2 separate regions of the Homo sapiens genome follow, and region 2 is linked to region 1. Evidence: promoter capture Hi-C in 16 types of primary human blood cells and fetal thymus (Javierre and others, 2016). All regions are on one chromosome and are shown on one strand. The core of a region is centred on a gene start or on the middle of the fragment in contact, and the rest is flanking DNA. Distances in the headings are between cores, read along the strand shown. Region 1 holds the start of VIM (vimentin). Region 2 overlaps MINDY3 (MINDY lysine 48 deubiquitinase 3).

What was found. Contacts are between HindIII fragments. The CHiCAGO score rates a contact against its expected background, and 5 or more counts as called.
Region 2: a contact is called between a fragment that was not itself captured here and the fragment with the promoter of VIM in region 1, in 3 of 17 cell types (M0 macrophages, total CD8 T cells and naive CD8 T cells). The highest score is 7.1, in M0 macrophages.

The regions. Positions count from the first base shown.
Region 1 is chr10:17,222,813-17,229,490 of GRCh38, reverse strand. VIM (vimentin) reads right to left here and starts at 1,250. Exons shown (of 10, transcript NM_003380.5): 1 at 967-1,250; 2 at 1-215. The coding sequence starts at 68. It overlaps VIM-AS1 (VIM antisense RNA 1), which reads left to right. Exons shown (of 3, transcript NR_108061.1): 1 at 1-146. RefSeq lists a silencer at 2,557-2,771. The HindIII fragment of the contact is 5,594 bases long and covers 1-3,589 here.
Region 2 is chr10:15,834,779-15,842,002 of GRCh38, reverse strand. It overlaps MINDY3 (MINDY lysine 48 deubiquitinase 3), which reads left to right. Exons shown (of 15, transcript NM_024948.4): 4 at 404-577; 5 at 3,724-3,775; 6 at 4,685-4,799. The region is part of intron 2 of LOC124902383 (a long non-coding RNA gene); the gene reads right to left. Among named protein-coding and RNA genes, the nearest start is that of MINDY3, 22 kb to the left of the region's middle. The HindIII fragment of the contact is 1,691 bases long and covers 702-2,392 here.

The sequences.
Region 1 (6,678 bases), core at 1-2,500:
CGGCTCGCGGTGCCCGGGCCGCCGAACATCCTGCGGTAGGAGGACGAGGACACGGACCTGGTGGACATGGCTGCGGAGGGTGGCGATGGCCTGGGCGGCGGCGGTGGCGCGGACTGGCTCCCGGAGAAGAGGCGAACGAGGGCGCGGTGGGTGTGGGTGGTGGGAGCGCGGCTGCGTCTCTGGCGCGGGGACCTCGGAGCGAGAGTGGCAGAGGACTGGACCCCGCCGAGGGCGCTGTTTTTATAACCCCGTTAGGAAAGAGGGTCCCCTCCCACTGCCATCCCAGCCGCGGAGCGCGCCAGCCAATAGGGACCTAGCGAGAAGCGGGGAGGGTGGGCGGGTGGGGTGGGGGCGCCCTCGAGCCTTCCTGCTCCGGGGCCTGGGACTGGGCATGGTCCCGTTACTTCAGCGCTGGGCTGGGACTTTTGGGGGCTTTCCGGATGATAGTCTGAGCTGGGCTCACCCTGGGGTGCTGAAAAAGGCGGGGTCGCGCGGTGAGGGGGGGGTCCGCCTGGGACTGAACCAGAGGGGTCCGGTGGCACCACGCCAAAGGGGCGTGGGAGGAGGTGCGCGGCGGTCTCGGGGCTGCGGTCAGGCGGGGAGACCCGCGGGCAAAGGAGCGGGAAGAGGAAAGAGTAAGGAATCCCTCAGATCTGAAGTCGCGGAGAAAGAAACAAAGAGCGCCTGAGATTGGAACGCGGGGTGGGGGCGCGCACAGCGCAGGAACGCAGGGCTCAGGCCTCGCCGCAGCCTCGCGCGCCGCCCGCTTGGAAAGGGGGGCTGCTCCGGCCCGCGCCTCTGTCCATCGACTTGCCTTGGCGGAGAGATGTTGGGGGGAGGGGAGGTTCTGTCGAGGGACCTAACGGGCTCAGTCCAGCTTCGGACGGCGGGAGTTGCGAGACGGCGGTGGCAGAGGAAAGCCCGAGGGAGAGGGGTGGGGTCGCTTAGTCACCGGCGGTGACTCACCGCGCCCTGCTGTCCCGCCGATTGAGGGCTCCTAGCGGTTTAGGGGAAACCGTTAGACCAGATTGATTCAAGTCTCAGCGGGCTCCGCGCGCGCTGCTAGTTCTCAGTGCTACCAACTTACAGCTGGGCCATCGCCTTGCTGTGTGCGGTCGGGCCCTGTGGGGGACAAGAGCGCCCCTAAGTTTTTAATAACTCGCTAAAGCCTGTCTTTGCTCGAATGTGCGGACTTTTTGTTAGCAAGAAACTTCTGCAGCCTTTGGAGAGGCGCCATACGTGGGCCTCCCAGATCACGATTGCACCGGGAAGGTTTTTCTTGCAGAGTCCCCGCCCCCGTCCCTCTGGTCTCCTCTCGCTCTTCCCCCTCCCCCCATGAAACCACACCCAACTTTTTAAACAAGATCTGAAAATTCTGGGTGAAAGAGGAAACTCGACGTCCGTAGTTTCAAAATAGAACTCAGTGATCAGTGGTTTTTACCCTGGTGGAAGTCATTAAAGGTATAATATGAGCCAGTTAAAGAATTAATTAGGTGTTGCTTAAAAACCCCAATTTGATTAATGAGTTCAAATGAAAGGCAATTATGTAACACAAATGACAGAATCTTTGGCGGCAATAGATTTATGTGTTAATTTTAGGACAGCAATGCACAGTACAGGGTTCACGGTGATTTGTCTGGGAAATGCCATAGGTCCTGTTTTCCAAAAGAATTCGTGCAATTGACCTTGGGGTGAGGGGGATAAAACTGTCTACGCAGCAAAAAACTTCGTGTCCAAGACATGGAGGGAGTGTTCAGATTCGGTCACCTTAACCTTTCTAGGGAAATCACTCAATTCAAGGGCTGTTGTTTCAATATTAGTAACGAGCAGAGCTGAGTACTTACCCGCCAAGGGAGATAAAAGGAGACTATGTAAATCAGTCTTCTCGTGATTTAGTAGCAATTGAAAAGGCACAGGTTTTTTTGAGTATTTAGATTTATGGTGTACTGAAAGGATTAACTGCAGAACCACTGTAAAATTGATTCTGCAGTGGATAGGAGAAAAAAAAGTATTTCTCTCTTTTTTTTTGGTGGCGGCAGGGGGTACTGCAGGTTACTTGGTATTTAAGAAACATAATTTAGAGGTAAATGAAGAGCGTATTCTGACTTCTTTGGACAAGCCTCTTTTAGGCAATATTTTGTTTACCTTATCCCAGTTCGTTCTTGCAAATGGTGCTTGCCAAGGTGGAATTACAGGACTCTCTACTGCCCAGCTCGCCTGCTGGGGCTTTCTTTTATTCTCTCTTTCACTGGGAGGCTGCAGGTCATTCCCCAAGAGCATTCCTGGGGCTGGGTGCCCTGGAGGACAAGCCTATGCTCTGAGTTACATCTTGCTTTCTGAGAGCCCTTTATTCAAGCCACTGCTCAGCAAATGCCACCATTGTGAGTGTGCCTGGAACCCTTAGAATGAGAAAAGTGATCTCCCTATGGGAGGAAGAGAGTGTGGAACTCACTTCTACGTGCAGTGCCGATCCCAGGGCAATGCGACGCTTGCTGACTGACTCACTATGGAAAAGGAGGACAAGGCATTGGCGAGGTGTGGCACTGTGCCCTGCTGGTGCCCATAGCCGATTCCTCAGGGCTGCGGTGATGTCTCCTGGAATGGGCACTGGTCCTCTTCATCATCTCAGGGATAGGTAGCTCCTCCTTCCAACCTGTCCCCATTCTGAAGTCTCTGGGCTGTGATAGGCTGCTCTCTTGTCACAGACATATGTTTGTTTGATGCATATAGAATGTATAAAAGTGTAGGTGTTCTGTAGTCCCAGCACTTTGGGAGGCCAAAGCAGGAGGATTGCTTGAGATCAGGAGTTTGAGACCAGCTTAGGCAACATATATATATGAAACCAAAAAAAGCCAGGCGTGATGGTGCACACCTGTGGTCCCAGCTACTTGGGAGACTAAGGCAGGGGGATTGCTTGAGCCTGGGAAATTGAGGCTGCAGTAGGCTGTGCACACCACTGCACTCCACCCTGTGCAACAGAGTGAGAACCTGTCTCAAAATAAAGTATATGTATGTACTACACACACATATACATACGCACATATACAGCGTTCAATGTGTTTTTCCTATTAGAAAATGCCATTGTTTTTGGTGGGCTGCAAGAGAAGTGAAAGTTGCAGAAACACTTTCATTCATTCATGTAGAATTCATGAGACTTAAGAATTCATTTCATTCTGAGATAAGATATACAGTGCCTCAATCAATGGGTGATAGTTTTCAGTCAGGGAGATCAATGAATCTGAACTCACATCCTTGAGTGAGACAACTCAGCCTGCTCTCTATGCTACTGTGTTCTTAGGTATCTTTTGGGTACACAGACATAGCTTTCCCGGGTTTTGTGTTTATTTTTTAATTGCTATGAAAACCTATCTGAGAAGTATTTTCAAGTGCTGGACTGGGAAGCTGCTTTCAACACAGCATGATGCAAGTTGCATATAAATAAAGACGTGGTGGTATAATTCATAGGCCAGGCATAAACACTACCACATCTAAATTACCAACAGTGATTTTGGAATTTGCAAGCTGTCATGATGTCAGTTGAATTGGGTGACTTAAACTGACGGACCAGCCAGCCGTGTGGACAGAAGCTTAGTGGCCTATGGAGGCTTTGGGAAAGCTGGCTAGCCATGCCAAGAGAACAGCATCTAGCAGGACTGTTTGGATGGAATGTTAGAAAGAAGAAGGAGGGTACACTGAGAGCATGAAAACCATAGCAAAACCTAAAATCCATGGAAATACAGGTAATAATAATAAATAGTATAATAGGTAATGTCGATGCCAACTGAATGACAGACACTGTGTATATATTTAATTTAACTTGATGCACTCACACCCTCCTGCAAGATAGACTTGATCATCCATTTCACTAATGAGGAGCCTAAGATGCAGGCTAGCAATTTTCTTGTGGTTGTATGACTAGCAGGGGTGGGAAGAAGGGGACAAGAATTTGAATCGAGGCCTTTCTGACTCTAAATGCACTTCTCTTTTCTGTTTGCCTTGATAACAAAATTTTGCTTACTATCAACCAGTTCAATTCACAAATATTAAGTGCTGGACTTATCATTTAGGGACCTACTGTGTTCCAGGAACTGAAGAGATGGGATGATTAACACAGATCTTGCTGCGAAGGGGCATATTTTTAGAGGAATTTGGCAGACAGCTATAACACCATGTTTACGATGTAAAATGATGTAAAAAACAAAATCAAATGACGTAACAGTGATCATACTATGTAAGAAGGGAGATTTGTTTTCACCTGCATTCTAAAACATTACTTTCATTAGTGAGTTAAAAATTTTCATTTAGATTCCATTTTGCCTCTTAGGAGGAATCACATTCAAGACTGGGTTTAGCTCGTCTCACGCCCTAAAGCCCATGAACCACCATCGCTTCCCCTGCCAGCTTCCCTGTCTATTCAGGGCAATACAGCAAAACAACAAGATTGGAAACTTTCATCATTGCCACTTCCTAACTAACTCTTCCATCTCAGATCCAATGGGTATCATGCCCCGCTCTTCCTGGATCCACTCCTCTGTTACGTTGCTGTCACTCAGATCCAAGCCATTTCATACCTCCTTCCTGCAATACTGCAATTGGCTTCCGTTCCTCCATGCTTTCTTGCTTTCTTTCTTTTCTTTTTTTTTTTTTTTTTGAGACGGGGTCTCGCTCTGTCCCCCGGGGCTGCAGTGCAGTGGCGCGATCTCGGCTCACTGCAAGCTCCGCTTCCCAGGTTCACGCCATTCTCCTGCCTCAGCCTTCCCAGTAGCTGGGACCAAAGGCGCCCGCCACCAAGCCCGGCTAAGTTTTTGTATTTTTTTAGTAGAGACGGGGTTTCACCGTGTTAGCCAGGATGGTCTCAATCTCCTGACCTCGTGATCCACCCGCCTTGGCCTCCCGAAGTGCTGGGATTACAGGTGTGAGCCGCTGCGCCCGGCCCCTCCATGCTTTCTTTTCTGCCACCAATGCATCTATCTTCAAGCCATCACCCCTTTTTCTTTAAAACTTATATATATATATATAGAGAGAGAGAGAGAGAGAGAGAGAGACAAAGGCTTGCTCTGTTGCCTAGGCTGGAGTGCGGTGGCGCAGTCATAGCTCACTGCAGCCTCTTAACTCTTGAGCTCAAGTATTCCTACTGCCTCAGCCTCCCTAGAAGCTGGGAGTGCCATCCATGCCCAGCTAACTTTTTATTTTTTGTAGAGCCAGGGTCTTGCTATGTTGCCCAAGCTGGTCTTGAACTCCTGGGCTCAAGCAATCCTCCAGCACTGGCCTCCCAAAATGTTGGGATTAAATGTGTGAGCCTCCACATTTGGCCAAAAACTTCCTTCTTTAAACTTCTTGGCAGGAATTGCTCATTTCCTCACTGGAATGTAATCTCCCTAAGGGCAGGTAGGAATTTTTCTCTCTTTTGTTGACTATTGTATTTCCAGTGGCTAGAGAAAAGCCAGGCACATCTGTCGAATATATACATTAATACATGAGTAGTTCATAGAAGGAAGAAATATAGGTGTGGGGCTAATATTTACTGGTGCTTATTATGTTTAAGCATTGTGCTAGTCACTTTAGACATGACTGCATTTAATCTTCACAAGGTATCGTGATACACAACTTTTATTCTTTTACTCCAAACATACTTATTGAGTATTTGCCATGTGCCGGGCAGTCTGGTAGACACTGGGGAAGGGACCAAAGCAGGTATGGCCCAAAGCCTCTTGGAACATAGTGTTGAGTCTGCGTATATGTATATGATACAGAGAGACAATACTCGTAAAGGAACAAACAAAATGATTGCAACTGGTGATAAAGACTATGAGGGAAACAGAAATTTTCCTGCAGAGGAGGTTGAGGATCATAGTTAACTAGTGGCCTTTGGAAGTTATGTCAAGTATATATATCTATCCTCATTTTCCACTGTTCCCCACAAGCAGCAATTTCAGTAGAACCCTAAGCTCCTTCTTCTTCCATGAATATAGTACATTTCCCCCACCCTCAGGTCTTTCCTCATATTCCATTTAACAGATAGATGTATTCATATTTTTTTGCACTGCCTGCAATGTTTCTTAGTATATTTCAGTAAGTAAGGTGCTTTTTGTGCCTCTAGGGATCTCATAGCTTTGTATAAGGATTAGAAAGCAGGTAAAGAGTTGGAATACATAGCAGAATGTGGTAAGTGAGTGCTGTAGCACAGATAGGATAAAATGCTAAAGAGCATAGGTGGAGAAATAATCATTGCAGCGCTATTCACAATAACAAAGACATGGAATCAACTCAGGTGCCCATTAACAGTGGATTGGATAAAGAAAACATGGTACATATACACTGTAGAATATTACATAAGCATTAAAAAGAATGAAATCATGTCCTTTGTAGCAACACGGATACAAGTAGAAACCATAAACCTAAGCAAATTAATGCAGAAACAGAAAACGAAATACTGCATGTTCTCACTTCTAAGTGGGAGCTAAACATTGAGTATACACAGACACAAAGATGGAAACAGTAAACACTAGGGATTCCCAAAGTGGGAAGGGAGGGAGGAGGCAAGGATTGAAAGACCACCTATCGAGTACTATGGTCACTATTTGGGCAACGATATCATTAGAAGCCCAAACCTCAGTATCACACAACATACCTATGTAACAAACTTGCACATGTACCCCCTAAATCTAAATTAAAAAA
Region 2 (7,224 bases), core at 298-2,797, 1.4 Mb after region 1:
TCAGATGTGAGGGAAAAAAAATAGAGGTTTCAACAGGCCTTTACATTGTGCTCAGTTCTTCAGTAGAGGAAACCTCTTGGCTTAAATGCTGCAGTTGCTAAAGTTTTAAGAAAGTGATGATCAGTGTCACATTATGATCTTTCATAATGTTTAGTTCTGCATTTTTCAGTATTCTTTTTCTACTTGGTGGTGTTATTTGGATGGCTTTATTTAAAGTGGTGATATTTTAATCCACAAACACATTGTTTTTCTAAGACATAATTTAAAATCTATTTAGAGATTTTTCCCCCATTTTTAAAATGCTTGATTTTCATCATTAACCCATTCTTACTATTGTTATTCATGACAGAATTTTTTTTTTTCCAGAGGAAACCATTATAACTTATGCTTTGGTTATTTTTAGAGGAAGAGCAGAAGGAACTCCTTTGTCATACCTTGTGTGATATTTTAGAAAGTGCTTGTTGTGACCACTCTGGATCATACTGCTTGGTTTCATGGTTAAGAGGAAAGACAACTGAGGAAACTGCTAGTATTTCTGGGAGTCCTGCAGAGTCTAGTTGCCAAGTGGAACATTCTTGTAAGATATATTTTTATTTCCTGAAGTTTTTTTCTTGTTCCTTTGTTTTAATGAATCTATTGAATATTTTGAAGAAAAAATTACTTAAAATTTTCATAACATGTATTCTTTTCCAGCTTAAGCTTAATTACTGAGCCTCACTATTTTTTATTTCCATATCATTTATTTTAACTACTTAGAAGATACTACATTTTTGCAAAAAAAAATGCATCTCTTAAACTTTTAAAAATGTTCTGGTTAACTTCTGCTTGATAATAATCTCTTTTGAGCTTTAGAACTCTTATTTAGAAATAATGATATGCTTCAGTTTCAGATGCCTTAATGTTTTGCTTTGGTATTGCAAAAACGGATTTTTTTGGACATCAGAAGATTTCATAAAGTTATCTTTACTTGCTTCCCAGAGCAAAGATGGGGACATTTCTCCTCATTGCAAGCTGTTTCTTTTCTTTCCGAATTATTTGGATATTTTTATACATATAGATTATTTTAAGGCAATTTTAATTATGCCTTAAGTTTTTCATACCTTGAAGATAAGTTAAATAATAGCTGTTTACGTTAAATAATAGCTATTCTCATTATTCATAAAAATTATATATTCTGTGGTTTTTAACTTTTGAAAATTGTTATGTAATTGACCCGAAAGCTGCCAGTGTGAAATGGAGACAGCTAGTGGTACGGAAGCTAGTTAAGAGTTGCTTTTCTGATTTGCTTTTCAGGAATAATCTTGCTAGTTGATGGTTTTTTATAATTGGTAGTCCCAAGTGCTTATGTTAAATAAGTGACTTATTCTACCCACAGAGCATCACATTAACTATCATCTTTGTGGAAAGTTTTCGTAAAGAGATTACGTACCTGAAAGTACACTTCAATTGTATGGGATACACATTTTGCTTTCCATATAGTATTATCTATAAGGTGCTGTTGCCTCCCTGGACTAAAATGCCTCTGTGTTGTCAGTGTCTTTTTTCTCCTACCTCTGCAGTTAAAATGCCTTAAGCCTGGCAAATTCTAATAGTAGTAACATTTGCAAGGAATAATTTTGAACATTTGAACAGCTATATGATGCTTCCTTTTGAAGCCTTTGAAATATGGCCTTTCAAAAAGAACTTAACATATTTTAGAGTTTATAATGACATTTGAAGACAACAAGTGGAAAACAGTCACAAGGATGCTAGTCCAAAGTGTCACTAAGATTGGTTTTAACATATTCTCCAGGTTTTACTGTGTGGGTGTTAGCACACTTAATAGGTTCATTTAGGATATTAAAATTTTGAAAGAGGAATTGTTGATCTTTTGAAAAGGTATTTTAAAGATTTTGTGCTTAAAGCCAGTCTGTATATTGATGTGAGAAAATAGTAAGATCTTTTTATATAACATTTTCCATTAGTATCTTAACAGTATACTGAGTGCATACTATGAAATATGCTATGCAGTTCTGTGGTGATACGTCACGTTGCTATAGGTTAAAGGGCCTTATAATGCATTCCCTTTGGTACTTCAGTAACTAATTTAGATGGGCATATTATATTGAATTACCCTCCAGAAAACATTTTAGTAATTTTTCCAGTTTACTTTGTATCTCATTTTAAAAGTTGCCATGAAGTAAACCATATTTTAAATTTTTTAAATAATGTATACATTTGAAATACTTTGTTAACTGAAAATTTGAGAATTTACCTTAGTGACAAATGAACTGTATTTATATTACAATTTTTATTCCGTGTAACAATCTATTTTACCTGTTCTTTCCTTTATTCCCAGCTTTGTTCTTTTTCTTGTGTTTTATATTTTTTCACCATCCCTGCCTGCTAAGCTTTTTATTTTGCTTGCCTCTTTTCTCTAAATTATTATCTTTATGTCTACTCTTGTAGTATACCCAGTAAAACTATTTAGATAATCTAATGTTGCAGAACAAGCAGTATAATTTGGAAAAGATTAGGTAGAATTTTCATTTTCTGAAAGTTTTAATGTAAAGTGTTTTCCCCTCTTGTTAATATTACTTTCTCTACAAACATTAATTTCATTGGCTTATGTGGTGTGTATAGTTTTGGCTTGTTGGTAATGCACAGTTGTTCGCAGTAGTGAATACTCAGGTTCAATTTCAGTTTGTTTCCCACATAAACCAAGAAATAACTTAATACATTTGGACTGCTAAAGATTTTAAAACGAAATATGAAACACTCACAACTAGGCTTTGGAAAGCTAGCATAATGTGACATTTTAAATTGTAAATAAAAATCTAAAATTTTGACTTCATAATGAATCAATTTTCTTAACTCACCAGTGAGAATTTATATTTGATAGTAGTAAGATTTGCTTTATGAAATATATGTGAAGTTATTCATTGTGATAAATAACTCCCTGGAGCCAAGACTATCTGTGCTCAAGTCTCATCTCTGCTGTTTAATCCTATGTACTCTTGAGAGGATTTTTCTGTGTGCCTCAGGTTCCTCTTCTGTAAAATGGAGCTAAGAGGGTTTATATGAGGATTAAATGAGGTAAGACATGTAGGGCATTTAGAAAAGGGCCTGGCACTTAGTAAAGTGCTCAATAAACATTACCTCTGATTAAAATGCTTTCTTCTATTTCCTTTGATTAATAAACATAATCTAAATAAGTTACTGAAAACTTTTTAACAGTTATACAAATAAATGAGGAAACAAACTTAAAGCTGTCATTGAACCTGTGTAGTTTGAAAGTGTTATGCCTTTTTATACATGTTTGTTTAATAATTAAGCCTTAAACCTAAAGATTTTATATTATAAAAAGGAAGGTTAGCTCTGATGATATTACTTGGATTTATATAATCTGAAAGATTATTTAAAAGTGCAGGACACATTATGATATGTGAGGCACTGATTATCAGTAATTTTTCATACTTTATAACTGCCGTAGCATAGCTGAACTGAAATGTTATTTAATCACCCTTCTATATTCTCAGTATTATATCGATTTTAGTTATATTCATAATAAAGATGTTGAAATATAAATTCATGTTATAATGAAGTTGAAAATAAACTGAGAATTTTAAGGGAGTAAGGAAATAGGGAAAGTTTTGATTGCTTGAAAGTATTTACAGCCTGCTGTGTGTATCTTGTGTCATTTATTTGCCATGTGTAGTGCTGAAAAGTGTCTTTTATGTATAGCTGCCTTGGCTGTCGAAGAGCTTGGCTTTGAGCGATTTCATGCATTAATTCAGTAAGTAACATTGGAACATTTAAAATACTTACTCTGTGGACACATTGCCACTTTAAGTCTGTTCATACTGTGGAAAGGTTCTTAGTTTTACATAGAAATGCGCTACTTAAACATAAATTTTAAATCCATTGCTTCAGGATTAATTTGCCTTTAAATTAAAATAGTTTGTAAATGTATAAACTATGCTGAGTCCTTAATTAACTACCCAGATACGCTTTTCAAAAACATTAAAAAGCTTTTTCATCATTACAATGAAAAAAAATCATTTTAGCTTAATGTTTCTGTGACCTAAACAAATATGAAGATTTCTAGTAGGATAAATATTAGAATTATTTATTTGCCAGTATCTGTTTTCTATACCTTTTATTAAGAATACCGATATTTTTGTTAGAGCATTTAAACTTTTTATTACAAAGTAAAAGGTAAAGATGGCTGTTGATAGAATTATGGGTGGCATTTGGTTTAAAATGTAACATTAATTTCTTTTAAAAGAAGCCGCAAATGTGTAAGTTATCTTTGGCATTAAGATATTTGTTAAGTAATTTCTAGGATTTAAAAAGTGAAGTTTTCTTTGTGTTTACCCCCTCTTACAAGAAGGCCACTCTATTCTTTAAATAACTGTATATTATTGAAGAATTTACTGATGCCAGACAGTTCACCTAAGAGATGAAGAGGTTCCCTGCCAAGTAGGTGTTCTTTCTTAATGATAAATATCATATATAGTGATAGTTGTCAGAAATAGCTTTTGGTTTTAGTGGCTAAATTTGTAATGAAAAATTTAGAAACGTCCCAAAACTTTCCTGTTTGTATGTATATGTTTTAATGTATAAGAAAATTTAAAAATTTTCCCTTTTATGAATGTAGTTAATCTCATCATGATACCAATACTTAATTCTTTTTTTCCCCCAGAAAAAGATCGTTCAGAAGTTTACCAGAATTAAAAGATGCTGTCTTGGACCAGTATTCAATGTGGGGAAATAAATTTGGAGTATTGCTTTTTCTGTATTCTGTATTACTGACAAAGGTGTGTTCAAGAAGATGATTTTTCTGCCTTTGATTAATGTTGTTCAGTGCTGTTTTTCCTGCAGTGATGAGTAATTTTATTCCTGATGGTGTTTTTAAATTCTTAGAATAAAAATCTTTTACGTTGAAAATGAGTTAATTTCTGTTTCCTCAGCACTCACTCGTTGCTTAAGCAGTTTCACCTCTGCTCTTTTGGACTACAGAGATTATCAATAATGTTCTGGTTGTGAAATGCTGTCCTTTCTTCCAAATTGTGTTTCCTTTGATCCTTCCGTGTAGCACTTGACCCCTTAACCCCTTCTGGAAGCTGTTTTTGACCTTGATTCCATTTCTTGATTTTTTTTTTGAAAAATCACTGTGTGAGTTTTCTTTCTATAATGTCTCACGATTCTTATTTTGTTTTGTTTTCTTTGATAGCTTTGTTTCCTTCTTTATCTGTTACCTCCTGCTCTTTTCTCTCCTCCTCTAAATTTTTATAGTCCAGAAATTTTCTTCCCTGGATCCAGTATGCCTTTTATGGATATTTCATTTGCTCAGGTTACCTTTATATAGCTATTTAATAGTTCCAATATGTCCCCTTCTAGTCCTACTCTTTTTCCCCAAATACCAGTCTCATAGCTCTAGTAACGTGTTAGTCTCAGTTGACTATGCTATTAGATCTATCATGTCTGAAATCAAACTTCTTTTATTTGACAAATGTTTTTTGAGCGTTGATTGACTCTATGCTAGGGACTATGTCTGTATTAATAATATGGGATGCATTTTTAATGGTATCTATTTAGCATTGTAAAAAAATGGCACATTAATAATTCCATTATGGCAGTGTGTTTTGGCGTTTGGTCTTCTGTCTGAACCTATTAGATGGAATCAAGGGCATACTGTTTCTAGTAGGGACCATCTGACAGAGATAGGACCTTGATGCATGAGGGCAAGTTTTCTATATGGGAAAGCTGGAGGACATTTTTTCCAGCAGTGGGCACTGCAAGTATAAAAGTGTAAGGGATTGAGGGTATAATGCAGGTTTGGGGAGCTCTAAGTAGTTGAGCCTTACTGTAGCATAAGACACCAGAGAGGCAACTGTGGAAGATGAGACTGGGCACATATGTAAGAAAAGACTTAGAATATGAAGACCTTTCTATGTACACTGTACAAAGAGTAGGTTTCATCTGCTCAGAATTGGAACACAGTAAAAAGTTTGAACAAGGGAGTGACAAGATCTTTTTGTTGATAAAAGATATCTTAAATTGGGATAGGAGTTGTGATGGATGGAGTTGGTGTTTGTAATATAAGACTAGAGTCAGGAAAACTAGAAAATTGGGTATTGAAATAAGAGCAGCCTAAACTAGGACAGGTCATGGAATGGAAAACAAAAGGAGTATATTTAGAAATGTAAATAAATACCTATTTGGAATATTAAATGTAAATAAATAAGAGAACCCAAAGTGCTTAGTTGTGTAGATGTTCGGAGTAGCTGTGATGGTGGTATCTAAGATGACTGGTTTCTTATAAGCTCTTCTTGACTGTTCAGTATTCTCCAACTTTCTTATGCTCAAAACGTTTGATACCTCCTCTGTTTCTTCTTCTTTACAGCCAATAAATTATCATGCAAGTTGTCCTTCCTTGACCTGGTCTTTAAAATGGTATCCCCTTCCTCAGTAGTGATTGTGTCACTTGTTGATAGTATTCATCTTGACATTATCATAGCCTGATTTGTATTGTTTAGGAGGATGGCATATGCAAGAGCTCATGCTTCTTTGTTTCCCCCTGCGGGATTTAGTCATTCTTTAAAAATCTTGGTTGTTAATTAATCATCTATTTAATTCTTAGAAATGACCTCTAATATGATAGAAACAATGGCTAAAGTTAAGTGAATAGAACAATGAATAGCAGTTTATCTTTGTCCTTCTGGAATTGATGAGGTTACAATAAGTAGGTCTTCTTGTACTTATCCAGTATGTAGAACTTTTGGGAGTTGAGTGCCCTTCTGAAGGTTTAAAAAGTATCAGGAAATTGGTTTTTAAGAAAAGAAGGCACTTCCTGCCCTCCTAATTTGCATTTTGTCAGTATACATTTGAATGACCAACATTTGTGAGAAAGTACAATCAGAAGTAAACCTTCCATTTTATGTACCAGTTAAATAATTAAAACGCAAATTATTTAATGTTATATCTCTATCGATATTCATGTGTGTATGTATTTACTGCAATAAGTTTTTACATGATCTAAAAAAATCAGTTGCCTTAACAGGCTCATATTCATTTAACTTTTAAATAATTCATTTAACTATTAAATAATTTCTCCTTTCTCCTATTAAAAGTTAATTCTCTCTCCTTGCCCTTTTAACCAACGGTACATATTTCACCCATGAGTGTTGTTTATATAGAGCCCATGAAAGAAAATAAAAGATATTTGAGGAACTATTTTTT